Regions from separate parts of the Homo sapiens genome. Here regions 1, 3 and 4 are each linked to region 2. Evidence: promoter capture Hi-C in 16 types of primary human blood cells and fetal thymus (Javierre and others, 2016). All regions are on one chromosome and are shown on one strand. The core of a region is centred on a gene start or on the middle of the fragment in contact, and the rest is flanking DNA. Distances in the headings are between cores, read along the strand shown.

What was found. The method cuts DNA at HindIII sites, captures the fragments that hold promoters and counts their contacts. A CHiCAGO score of 5 or more calls a contact.
Region 1: the fragment with the promoter of KRTAP4-12 here is called in contact with a fragment that was not itself captured in region 2 in 6 of 17 cell types (activated CD4 T cells, naive CD8 T cells, naive CD4 T cells and 3 more); the score reaches 7.7 in activated CD4 T cells.
Region 3: a contact is called between the fragment with the promoter of KRTAP4-6 here and a fragment that was not itself captured in region 2, in 5 of 17 cell types (non-activated CD4 T cells, activated CD4 T cells, total CD8 T cells and 2 more). The highest score is 6.9, in non-activated CD4 T cells.
Region 4: a contact is called between the fragment with the promoter of KRTAP4-4 here and a fragment that was not itself captured in region 2, in 1 of 17 cell types (total CD8 T cells). The highest score is 7.2, in total CD8 T cells.

Annotation. Positions count from the first base shown.
Region 1 is chr17:41,122,799-41,125,553 of GRCh38, forward strand. It overlaps KRTAP4-12 (keratin associated protein 4-12), which reads right to left and starts at 1,384. Exons shown (of 1, transcript NM_031854.3): 1 at 293-1,384. The coding sequence starts at 1,324. The coding sequence ends at 719. RefSeq lists an enhancer at 511-1,064. The HindIII fragment of the contact is 5,176 bases long and covers 1-2,248 here.
Region 2 is chr17:41,428,749-41,431,448 of GRCh38, forward strand. No RefSeq gene overlaps it. Among named protein-coding and RNA genes, the nearest start is that of KRT37, 5.5 kb to the left of the region's middle. The HindIII fragment of the contact is 2,088 bases long and covers 328-2,415 here.
Region 3 is chr17:41,139,179-41,141,878 of GRCh38, forward strand. It overlaps KRTAP4-6 (keratin associated protein 4-6), which reads right to left and starts at 1,366. Exons shown (of 1, transcript NM_030976.2): 1 at 255-1,366. The coding sequence starts at 1,309. The coding sequence ends at 692. RefSeq lists an enhancer at 498-1,010. The HindIII fragment of the contact is 3,012 bases long and covers 1-1,790 here.
Region 4 is chr17:41,159,491-41,162,287 of GRCh38, forward strand. KRTAP4-4 (keratin associated protein 4-4) reads right to left here and starts at 1,258. Exons shown (of 1, transcript NM_032524.2): 1 at 159-1,258. The coding sequence starts at 1,201. The coding sequence ends at 701. The HindIII fragment of the contact is 13,067 bases long and covers 1-2,797 here.

The DNA of each region.
Region 1 (2,755 bases), core at 134-2,633, 310 kb before region 2:
AAGATGATGAGTTGTGATCAATCTTTCAAAACGTTTCCCCTGTTGTTATATTCATGGATATTTCATGACTTCAGCTTCACTCTTTTTGTCTAAAGAATACAAAATGACTAATTGATTTGCCTAAGCCTGAAAAGACTTTTCTAGAAAAAAACTAGGCAGTGATCGATGTCAGTTGACCTCTGTTAGAAGGTTGACTAATCTGTGCTGTGAGCCCTACAGGTGTAGTTAAATGTAATCACCCAGGACCTAAATATAAAACCCTTTTTAAAAAGAGAATAAGAATCATATTCAATTTTCAGTGCCAATAGAATAGAGGTTTATTTTGGTACATGGAAATAACAAGGTACAAAAATGTTTGCAAAAGACTTTAAGAGAGAGACTTCACTGGACTTCAAGGTTGGAGGCTTTAAGATCTGTGGCCCTACAAATGATGGAGGCAATCTTCAAATTCCTTAGGCATGATGAATAAATGTCCTGAAGTCAAAGAGGTGGGAGGATGTTGGAGGACAATTTGTCAATTTATTAGGAGATTGTCAATGAATTCCTTTGGAAGGAAGGGAGTTTGGACAAAAGGTAGAATGCAAATACAGAATTTCTAAGGATGAGGTTTGCTTATGGGACCCAGATCAATTCTCTTGAACAGTCCGCATGTTTGCAATGAGAGCCTTCATCTGTAGGAAAGGACGTAATAAGGAAGTGGTGTGTTCACAGCAGAGATTTAGCAGCAAGAGGAGGCACAGCACAAGGGGCGGGGGCAGGTGGAGATGACACAGGTTGGGCGATAGCAAGTGGTGTGGCAGGAGACTCGGCCACAGACTGGACGCAGGCAGCAGCAGGGGCGGCAGCAGCTGGATTCACAGCAAGAGGGGCAGCAGCTGCTGGAGATGCAGCAGCTGGGGCGGCAGCAGGTGGGCTGGCAGCACACAGACTGGCAGCACTGGGGTCTGCAGCAGCTGGACACACAGCAGCTGGGGCGGCAGCAAGTGGTCCTGCAGCAGGTGGTCTGACAGCAGCTGGGGCGGCAGCAGGTGGGCTGGCAGCACACAGACTGGCAGCACTGGGGTCTGCAGCAGCTGGACACACAGCAGCTGGGGCGGCAGCAGGTGGTCCTACAGCAGGTGGTCTGACAGCAGCTGGGGCGGCAGCAGGTGGGCTGACAGCACACAGACTGGCAGCACTGGGGCCTGCAGCAGCTGGACACACAGCAGCTGGGGCGGCAGCAGGTGGTCCTGCAGCAGGTGGTCTGGCAGCAGCTGGGGCGGCAGCAGTTCTCCAGGCCACAGCCCTGGTCAGAGCACACAGAGCCACAACAGGAGTTGACCATGGTGTCAGAGGGTGGAGGTTCTCGGTGGGTTTCCAGGAGAGTGAGTGTTCTGAGTTTGATCTCTCCTTGTTCTCTCTTTTGCTTTTTATACCCTGCTGAGAACCACTATGACAATGTGAATAATCTTGTGGTTTGCACATTACTAATAGAGAATCAGTTGTTTTTTAGTAAATTAGATAGTTGTCCTTATCTGGTAAATATTTCTATAAATAGAAAAGGCAACATTTCCTTTTCCTGTTGTATTCTGAGCTATCCAATTTGGTTAAGCCAAGTGAATCAGCTCTCATTCTCCTTCCTTCATCTGATGTGTCTTCTGATGTGTAGACCCATTACATGACATTGTTTGATTGGATTTCATAAGTTAATTCTTTATTTATTTGACTCCTGGATAATAAGTTGAAAATAGATTTTATGATGACTAAATCTCCTCTGCTCTCAAAGAGGTTAAAAATAAATTACATAGAATGCTGGTAGGAAAATGTGATGAAAGATTCATCTTTGGGGGGTGATAGGAGGTAACTTGTGTATAATAAGGAACACTGTGATTCCTTTGAATTTTGTGGCTGGTCAGTGAGATATAAAAGATCCCACTGAAATTCCTGTTTCATGTTATTGACTCTATTTAGCTTGAAACAGATATAATGCAATGATTCATTGCTTTACAAGTAAAAATACATTGGCATGATAGGTCCCTTTATAAATTATTGTTGGCATGTTCTTCAGAGATGGGGATCATAAGGAACATTTTTGTTCTATTTTGTTGGTAAGTCAAGATACCCACTGAATGTGTTTAACTGAAGTGTTATTGAAAGTAGATTTTCTCATACTCGAAAGCTGCTTTTTCTCACAATGTATGTTGGAGATATTTTGCTTGATACATGGAGAAAAGAAACAAAGGATCAAGTTTAATTTCTGTCCTACAGAAGCTTAAACAAGACAAATAAGAAACATGTATAGGAAAGAATTTAGCAACTATTTAGAGAATGGTGTGATTAGTGAACAAAATAACAATTATGTATTTAATCTGTACACTTCCAATGAAAGATGAAACAATACTAATAGTTATAATTTTTTGAGTGCTTACTATGTGTCAGGAATTTTCTGAGTCCTCTATAATTGTTATCTTGTTTATACTTCACAAGGATTCTGCTATGTAGACACAATTTTTCTAAATTCTTTACATCCAAGGTACTTGAGGCCCAGATAGATTGAAGTCACACAGTCTGTAACAGGGAAAGGGCGTCTCTCCTAGAGTGTTCAAGGAACATTTTGCGCATGAACATTTTGCAATTAAATCCCTCCTGATATTTAAAAACAATTATTTATAATTAAAAAGATGCAAGGTATGTTCTCACTCCTAAGTGGGAGTTGAACAATGAGATCACATGGACACAGGGAGGGGAACATCACACACTGGAGCCTGTCGGGGGT
Region 2 (2,700 bases), core at 122-2,621:
CTGGGGCAATCCTTAGAGGGCCTCTCCCTGCCAGGCCATCCCTCAGAGGCCTCTGGGTGCAATCTGCATTTTCCATCTTCAAAGACCCCTTTGTTCCTATCTTCCGCCTCAACACATAGCATCACTATAATCCAGAGAATTGAAGCATTAAAATTCTTCCCTTTGATTTGCTAAATAGGAACCCTCTCTTGACCCTATCCTCTGGCAGGATTTTATCCCATTGGCTAAAATCATGGTTCCTTCTGTCTCAGAACATATGACACTTGTTAATTCTTAAGCATCACAGCTGAAGCTTTGCATCCTTTGCGTCCTGACACACCTCTCCAAAGCTTGATATGTGTCTCTGGCTTGGGCTCTGCATGGTCCATTTTGCATAATGACATAGACACTGCCTAGTCCTTCGTACAGCAGAGGGCTCTTCTGATTTTCTTTGGTCTCAAAGGAACAGGCAGTAGGTGGAAGGCATGAGGCAGGTGTCTGGGATGTACTCAGCTGTGTAGGTGGGAAGGAGCCCATCCTTGACATTGCAGATGATCAGATGAGCCTCCTCTTCCTCCCTTTTTTTTTTTTTTTTGAGACAGAGTCTCGCCCTATTACCCAGGCTGCAGTGCAATGCAATGCAATGGCATGATCTCGGCTCACTACGACCTCCACCTCCCGGGTTCAAACGATTCTCCTGCCTCAGCCTCCTTAGTAGCTGGGATTACAGGCACCCGCCACCACACCCAGCTAATTTTTGTATTTTTAGTAGAGATGGGGTTTCACCATGTTGGCCAGACTGGTCTTGAACTCCTGACCTCGTGATCCACCCACCTCAGCCTCCCAAAGTGCTGGGATTACAGGCATGAGCCACCGTGCCCGGCCCTCTTGCTCCTCTTTAAAAAGAGTTTCTGGCCCCTGAAAATAAACATATATTCCAAGTTGCATGAAGGGAGGTATCAGAGATGAAGAGAGAAGACAGAGGTAGTCCTGCAGCCCTCCTTCCTTCACAGGGGCCACCTCTTCTCTCTTGAGGATTAAAAGATTTTGAGCTGTAATCTCTCTTCAGGCAGAGGGGAAACACTGGGTTCAGAACAGCATCACTTGGTGCCACGGTGCAGACGCATCTCTGAGTCTGACCGTTCTGACGCATCTCTGAGTGAGACAGAAGCAGAGGCACTGGGCGGTCCACAGGGTGTGAGTCTAATCTGCAACCACCTGCTCCAGCTGCAGAGGAAAAATTCTGAAGACACCTAAGGAAACAGGAGCTGCCCACACACTGCATCCTGATGTGAATTACGCCAGGAAAACATCTGCAAACCACGACCAGCAGTGTGTCCTGATACCACTGTGCCTGCAAGGCTCTCAGACATGCTGGGTGAAAACAGAGTCTGAGGAAGGATAACCCAAAACACCTTTATCATTTCAAAAGTCCACCTCAGAAGGCTTTGAAAAAAAAAAAAAAGTCACCGTTTTCTTTTCTATTAAATAGGATTTTAAAATCTAGTTACTTGGGAAACTTTGGTTTGATTTTAAGTATTTTTAAATTATTATTCTGCTTTATTCTTTTTTTGTTTTTCTTTTCTTTTTAGATGGAGTTTTGCTCTTGTTGCCCAAGCTGGAGAGCAGTGGTCTGATCTTGGCTCACTGCAACCTCCGTCTCCTGGATTCAAGAGATTCTCCTGCCTCCGCCTCCTGAATAGCTGGGATTACAGGCGTACGCCACCACGTCCGGCTAATTTTTTGTATTTTTAGCAGAGATGGAGTTTCACCATGTTAGCCAGGCTGGTCTCCGACTCCTGACCTCAGGTGATCCACCCACCTCGGCCTCCCAAAGTGCTGGGATTACAGGAGTGAGCCACAGCGCCCTGCCTAGTTTGCTTTATTCTTATCCCAGGTCTTAAGGTCATCAGAGACTAAATACTGAAAAAGTTATCTTCATTTCCCCTCCCCTTTGTTCCCTGATCCTAGAGTTTCTTTATCTACATGCTAAGGCAGGAAATTTCCCCTTATTTACCTCATACCAAGACCTATTACAAAATCCTTTAATGCAGCATAGTAGAGGTTTAAGACAATGAATTTTGGATCCAGCCTGCCTGGGTTCAGATTCTGGTTCTATCATTTATTAGCTGTGTGAACTTGGGCTGGTGACTTGACCTCTCTGTGCCTCAAATTCTGCTTATGCACAATGGAGTGACAATAGCACCTAGCTAATGGATTTAAGTTTTAAAAAAATCCATACCTGTAAATCACGTAAAATAGTGTCTAGCACAGAGTACATGGTAAGCACTAAATAAGTGTTGTGTTTTTTAATGGATTTTACTGTTACTGGTGTGTTTACATGCTTACACCATTCATAATTCAAAAATGCTTATTAAATTACTTATTTTTTACTTATTTAAGTTAGCAAAGATCAGAAGTTTAGTCTTACTAAAAAGCTTTTGCACAGCAAAAGAAACAACAGAGTGAAAATACAACCTACTGAATGGGAGAAAGAATTGTAAATCATATATCTGATAAAGGGTTAGCCTCCAAAATATATAAGGAAGTCCTACAACTCAACTGTAAAAAATAATTTTTTTTAATTTAAAAATGGGCTAAGGATTTCTATAGACATTTCTCTAAAGTAGACGTACAAACGGCCATCAGGTATATGAAAAAATGCTCAAAGTCACTAGCCATAAGGGAAATGCAGATCAAAGCCATGAGACATCACTTCAC
Region 3 (2,700 bases), core at 116-2,615, 290 kb before region 2:
CACTTTCAAAAATATTTAAGAAAATTTAGCTGTGGGATATAACCCTTCTCCATATTCATAAAAAAACTTAACTTAAAATCTTTATTTTTTTCAATACTTTTGGAAACATCCATGTATTGCCTTTTTTTTAGGTCATTACATGTTGCAATTTTCTTGAAGGTGAGAGCAAGAATAGGATTCGTTCAGTTGTGTTTTGGGTGGAATTTCTCAGGAACTAAGGACAATCATTACAAAGCAACACAAAAAGAACATTGTATTTCTATGCGACAAAAGTGGAGTTTTATTCAGAAGCAGCAAAAATAAGATACAGAAACATTGCTGTAAAAGGAAATACAGGGTGAAACAATCAGACTTTCAAATCTGAGAGTGAGACAACCTTGCCCCGAGTTACCCTGCAAGAATTTCCATGTTTGGGACAGAAGAACTTGGTATCCATAAATACAAATATAAGGTATAAAATTTGGTAAATTCTATTAATTTCTTTCTGTAAATAATATCTAATTTCACACTTGGGTCAACATGGGGAACATATATTCTAGATGTATAGCCAGGACATATATCCTAGATATATGTCCAGGATATGGAAACACAGTTGGTGGGAATGGCCTCTTCTGAGTTGTTTATGAGATGCACAAGGTCTGCTTCTGTGAGGAGTGAGCTGAAGGGGAGGAGATAGTTTCAGGCAAGGAGCTCAGCAGCAAGAGGAGGCACAGCACAAGGGACGGGGGCAGGTGGAAATGACACAGGTTGGGCGATAGCAAGTGGTGTGGCAGGAGACTCGGCCACAGACTGGACGCAGGCAGCAGCAGGGGCGGCAGCAGCACGGGCGGCAGCAGCTGGATTCACAGCAAGAGGGGCGGCAGCAGCTGGAGATGCAGCAGCTGGGACGGCAGCAGGTTGGCTGGCAGCACACAGACTGGCAGCACTGGGACCTGCAGCACCTGGACACACAGCAGCTGGGGCGACAGCAGCTGGAGATGCTGCAGCTGGGACGGCAGCAAGTGGGCTGGCAGCACACAGACTGGCAGCACTGGGGTCTGCAGCAGCTGGATACACAGCAGCTAGGGCGGCAGCAGGTGGTCCTGCAGCAGGTGGTCTGACAGCAGCTGGGACAGCAGCTGGGACGGCAGCAGGTGGGCTGGCAGCACACAGACTGGCAGCACTGGGGTCTGCAGCAGCTGGACACACAGCAGCTGGGGCGGCAGCAGGTGGTCCTGCAGCAGGTGGTCTGACAGCAGCTGGGGCGGCAGCAGGTCTCCAGGCCACAGCCCTGGTCAGAGCAGACGGAACCACAACAGGAGCTGACCATGGTGTCAGAGGGTAAAGGTTCTGGGTGGGTTTCCAAGAGAGTGAGTTTCGTGAGTTTGGGAGTCTCCTTGCTGCATGTCCCCTTTTATACCCAGCTGAGGAGCCTTTGTGATTATGAGAAGATTGTTTCCTTGTTTTTGTTTATATGACACAAATGCAATTACTAAATTATATTGTGTTTTTCTAGTAAAAAATCCCAATATATAGAAAATGATTATTTCCCTTTTCTCACCCTGGTGTTCCCACATGAGTCACCTCTTGTTTTCCTTTCCTTGGTTTCAGTGTCACATGACTTCAGTCTCTGGGTATCATGTGACATGGGAGGGCCACTGTCACTTGTCTGTTTCTCATCATGATATCGTTTTGGGAGAGCTTCTGATTGGGCTAAGATCTCTAGTGGAGAAATGCATGTGTCAATCAGCTGGAATGCTGACAGGAAAAAAAGAAAATATGCTCCTGTTTTTGAGTGTGAGAAATAAGGAAGCTTATGATTCATTGTATGTATTCTGGGTGGCCATTGAGCTAACTAAATTCCTAGGTCATTGCAAGCTGTGTTAATTCTCATCACTCTGGTGCACCTTGAAACAGTTAGTAGTGACTCACTGTTTCTAAGGAACAAAGCATCATCTGGGCTTGAGCTGCGTCTGTCTTCAAAAGTGTCCTACAGGCTGAAGTAGAGTAATGTGGATCATAGTTTTTGATCTGCCTTTTGAAATATCAAATGTGTAATGGTTATGCTTTATTGACATTTTGTTAAAATCTTTTTCATACATTTTGAGCTAAAACATCTAGCAGGGTTTTTTTTTAGTATCACTTATTTCTAAGATTTTTTAAGAAGCATTGAGAGGAATATAAAAGATATATTCTTTAACTTACAGGTACTTATGTAACTGTGGACCTCAATTTTAAAAATCACCCACTTTCTCTTCCTTTCCTCCCCTCTCACCTCTTCATTCCTTCCCTCTGCACACTCCCTTCTGGCAATACTATCTAATATCTTATCTAATTATATTCTTGCTTAAGAAATTCCAGAGGCTAATCTTGAAACAAACCAGGCACAGAGCCCTGAGGAATCCTCTCACTTAGGGGGAATCTTGAACAATTAATCCACCACCATTGGGCTGAAGTCAAAATAATGCCTCCCAAACCTCTGGACACCCAAGATAGCCATTGGAACAAGACATGCAGACTCAGCACCCTGCACCACCCCTGCATGTCTCCCATGCCAAGTTTCCCTTTCAAAACCCTATGGCAAATTTTAAAATTTAAGATGGCACTTTAGAATGCTAGTTCACTAGCTAAAGGATGTCAGTGAGATATATCTTGGGGTGAAATGTTTTTATTTCCTTCACTTAGCATTCTTCTAGTTATTCATTACCAGTTAGTTCAAAT
Region 4 (2,797 bases), core at 8-2,507, 270 kb before region 2:
TGCTTGCTCTAAGAAACCACCATTGTATATTAGAATAAAGTGTGCTGAGGAAATAGAGGTGGTGCCCCTGAAATTACATTCTGCAGAGAAGAACAACAGAAAAATTGACTGGTAATTGACCACACTCAAAAAAGAAAAATAATGAGACACAGTATCTGTATATTTCTATGCCTGAAAATTTATTTAAGATTTATTTAGATAAATATTTGTTTAAAATGGAATAGCTCCATATGAGAAATTATGGCAGAGAGCAAATATTTCAATTAAGATAGTTGACAGATTTCAGAGCAAATTACAACTTATGTTCATTTGGTAGAGAGGTAAAATGTGGGGGGAGCATATATTTGGAGGCCAGATTCAATCTAAGAATTGGTTGGAACTGAAGTTTTCCAACTAGCTTCCCATAACTCAGCTCATAGATGAGCTACATCAAGAATGCTGGTTGATGAGAATCTGGTGAGTCCAGATGACAGCCTCAGCAGCAAGAAGCACTAGAGCAGGTTGGGCGGCAGCACATGGTCTGGCAGCAGTTGGGGCGGCAGCAACTGGAGATGCAGCAGGAGAGCCTGCAGCAGCTGAAGCCACAGCAGGAGGAGCTACTGCTGCTAGAGATACTGCAGGAAGGCTGGCAGCAGCTGGAAATGCAATAGCTGGGGTGGCAGCAGGTGGTCCTGTAGCAGGTGGTTTGCCAGCAGATGGGCTAGCAGCATAGAGACTGGCCACAATGGGGCCTGTAGCACCTGGACACACAGCAGCTGGGGCGGCAGCAGGTGGTTCTGCAGCAGGTGGTCTGGCAGCACTGGGGTCTGCAGCAGCTGGACACACAGTAGCTGGGGCAGCAGCAGGTGGGCTGGCAGCACACAGACTGGCAGCACTGGGGCCTGCAGCAGCTGGGGCGGCAGCAGGTGGTCCTACAGCAGGTAGTCTGGCAGCATTGGGGTCTGCAGCAGGTGGGCTGGCAGCACACAGACTGGCAGCACTGGGGTCTGCAGCAGCTGGACACACAGCAGCTGGGGTGGCAGCAGGTGGTCCTGCAGCAGGTGGTCTGGCAGCACTGGGGTCTGCAGCAGCTGGACACACAGCAGCTGGGGCGGCAGCAGGTGGTCCTGCAGCAGGTGGTCTGGCAGTAGCTGGGACGGCAGCAGTTCTCTAGGCCACAGCCCTGGTCAGAGCACACAGAGCCACAACAGGAGTTGACCATGGTGTCAGAGGGTGGAGGTTCTGGGTGGGTTTCCAGGAAGGAGGGTTTGGAAGGCTTGGAAGTCTCCTTGCCCCAGATCCTCTTTTATACCCTGCTCAGGGCTGATGTCATCGGATGCAGCACTCTTTCCTTGTCATTGTTTGTTCTGATGAGCAGGCAATTATCAAATTAGGCAAGTTTGTTTTTCTGCTTAAATTTGTCAACATGGAGAAAAGCATTATTTCCTTCCCCTGGTGTGTTAGGATTCTTCAGGTCAGCTCTTCTTGAACAACCTCTTGTGTGCCTCTTGCTGCAGCTTCCTCCTTGAGCTGCCATGTGACATCTGCCTGCAGGTACCATGTGCTGCAGCCTCATTTTCCTTAATACATTATGTCTGACCTTGGGTGATTTTAATTCTTCTAGGCCCGTAATTTTCTTTTGGTGACTCAGGAGGAGAAAGCTGTGCTTTAATCTCATGGCATGTTTGTTATAGATCAAGTGAGCAATGAAGGTTTGAATGTGAAACAGGTGACCAGTGGCATGAAAACAAATACTATTAGGATATATTCCTTGCCACCTTCCATACAATGAATCATGACCCATTTTCTAGATGTTCTACTGGGGAAAGCAGAATTGTTTTAAGGTGGACATCTAAGTCATGAATTATCGATGCTTCTTTTTCTTGAGAAACAACACTCCAAAACTCAGTTTCAGGGCCTTTAGGGGAAATTGGCTACAGAGATCAGCTATACTAAAAGGTTCAGGTCCCTCCGCTCTCTGCTCTGAGGGGCTGATTTTCCTTCTGACTTTTCCTTCCTGTCTCTCTGGCTTTAACAATCACATTGAGTCATCTCCTCTATTTCTAAGGTTTACTTGCCAACCTAAGGTAAAGGACCCAGTGTCCTTGCTATATATATATAATATATATATATATATATAATATATATTATATATATACATATATATACTATATATAGTATACACACACACGTATATACACACTATATATAAATATACACACTATATATAAATATGCACACTATATATAAATATACACACATACACACACATATATGTGTGTGTATGTATGTGTGTGTATGTGTGCGTGTGTGTGTGTATATATATATATATATATATATATACACACACACACGCACACATACACACACATTATGTCTGACCTTGGGTGATTTTAATTCTTCTAGGCCCATAATTTTCTTTTGATGTATATGTATATATATATATACACTCACACACACACAGGTTTGGGGGAATATATATATTCTGCCAAAGGACCTTAGGAATATATATATATATTATACATATATAGATGGGTAGATAGAGAACCTTATATATAGGTAATATAGGAATATATATATTTACATATTTATGAATATATAATATATATTCTTCATATATGTTTGTATTTAATAGTATGTATAAATATATATATAATATATACAATAACATATTTAGAAATATATATATTTATATATATATGTATTTACCTTTATCTCCTAAGGCCCTTTACCTTAGGAATATTATGCACACACACACACACACACACTCAAACACACACACACACACACTCCCCCAAACCTGGATGTTAAAGAAACC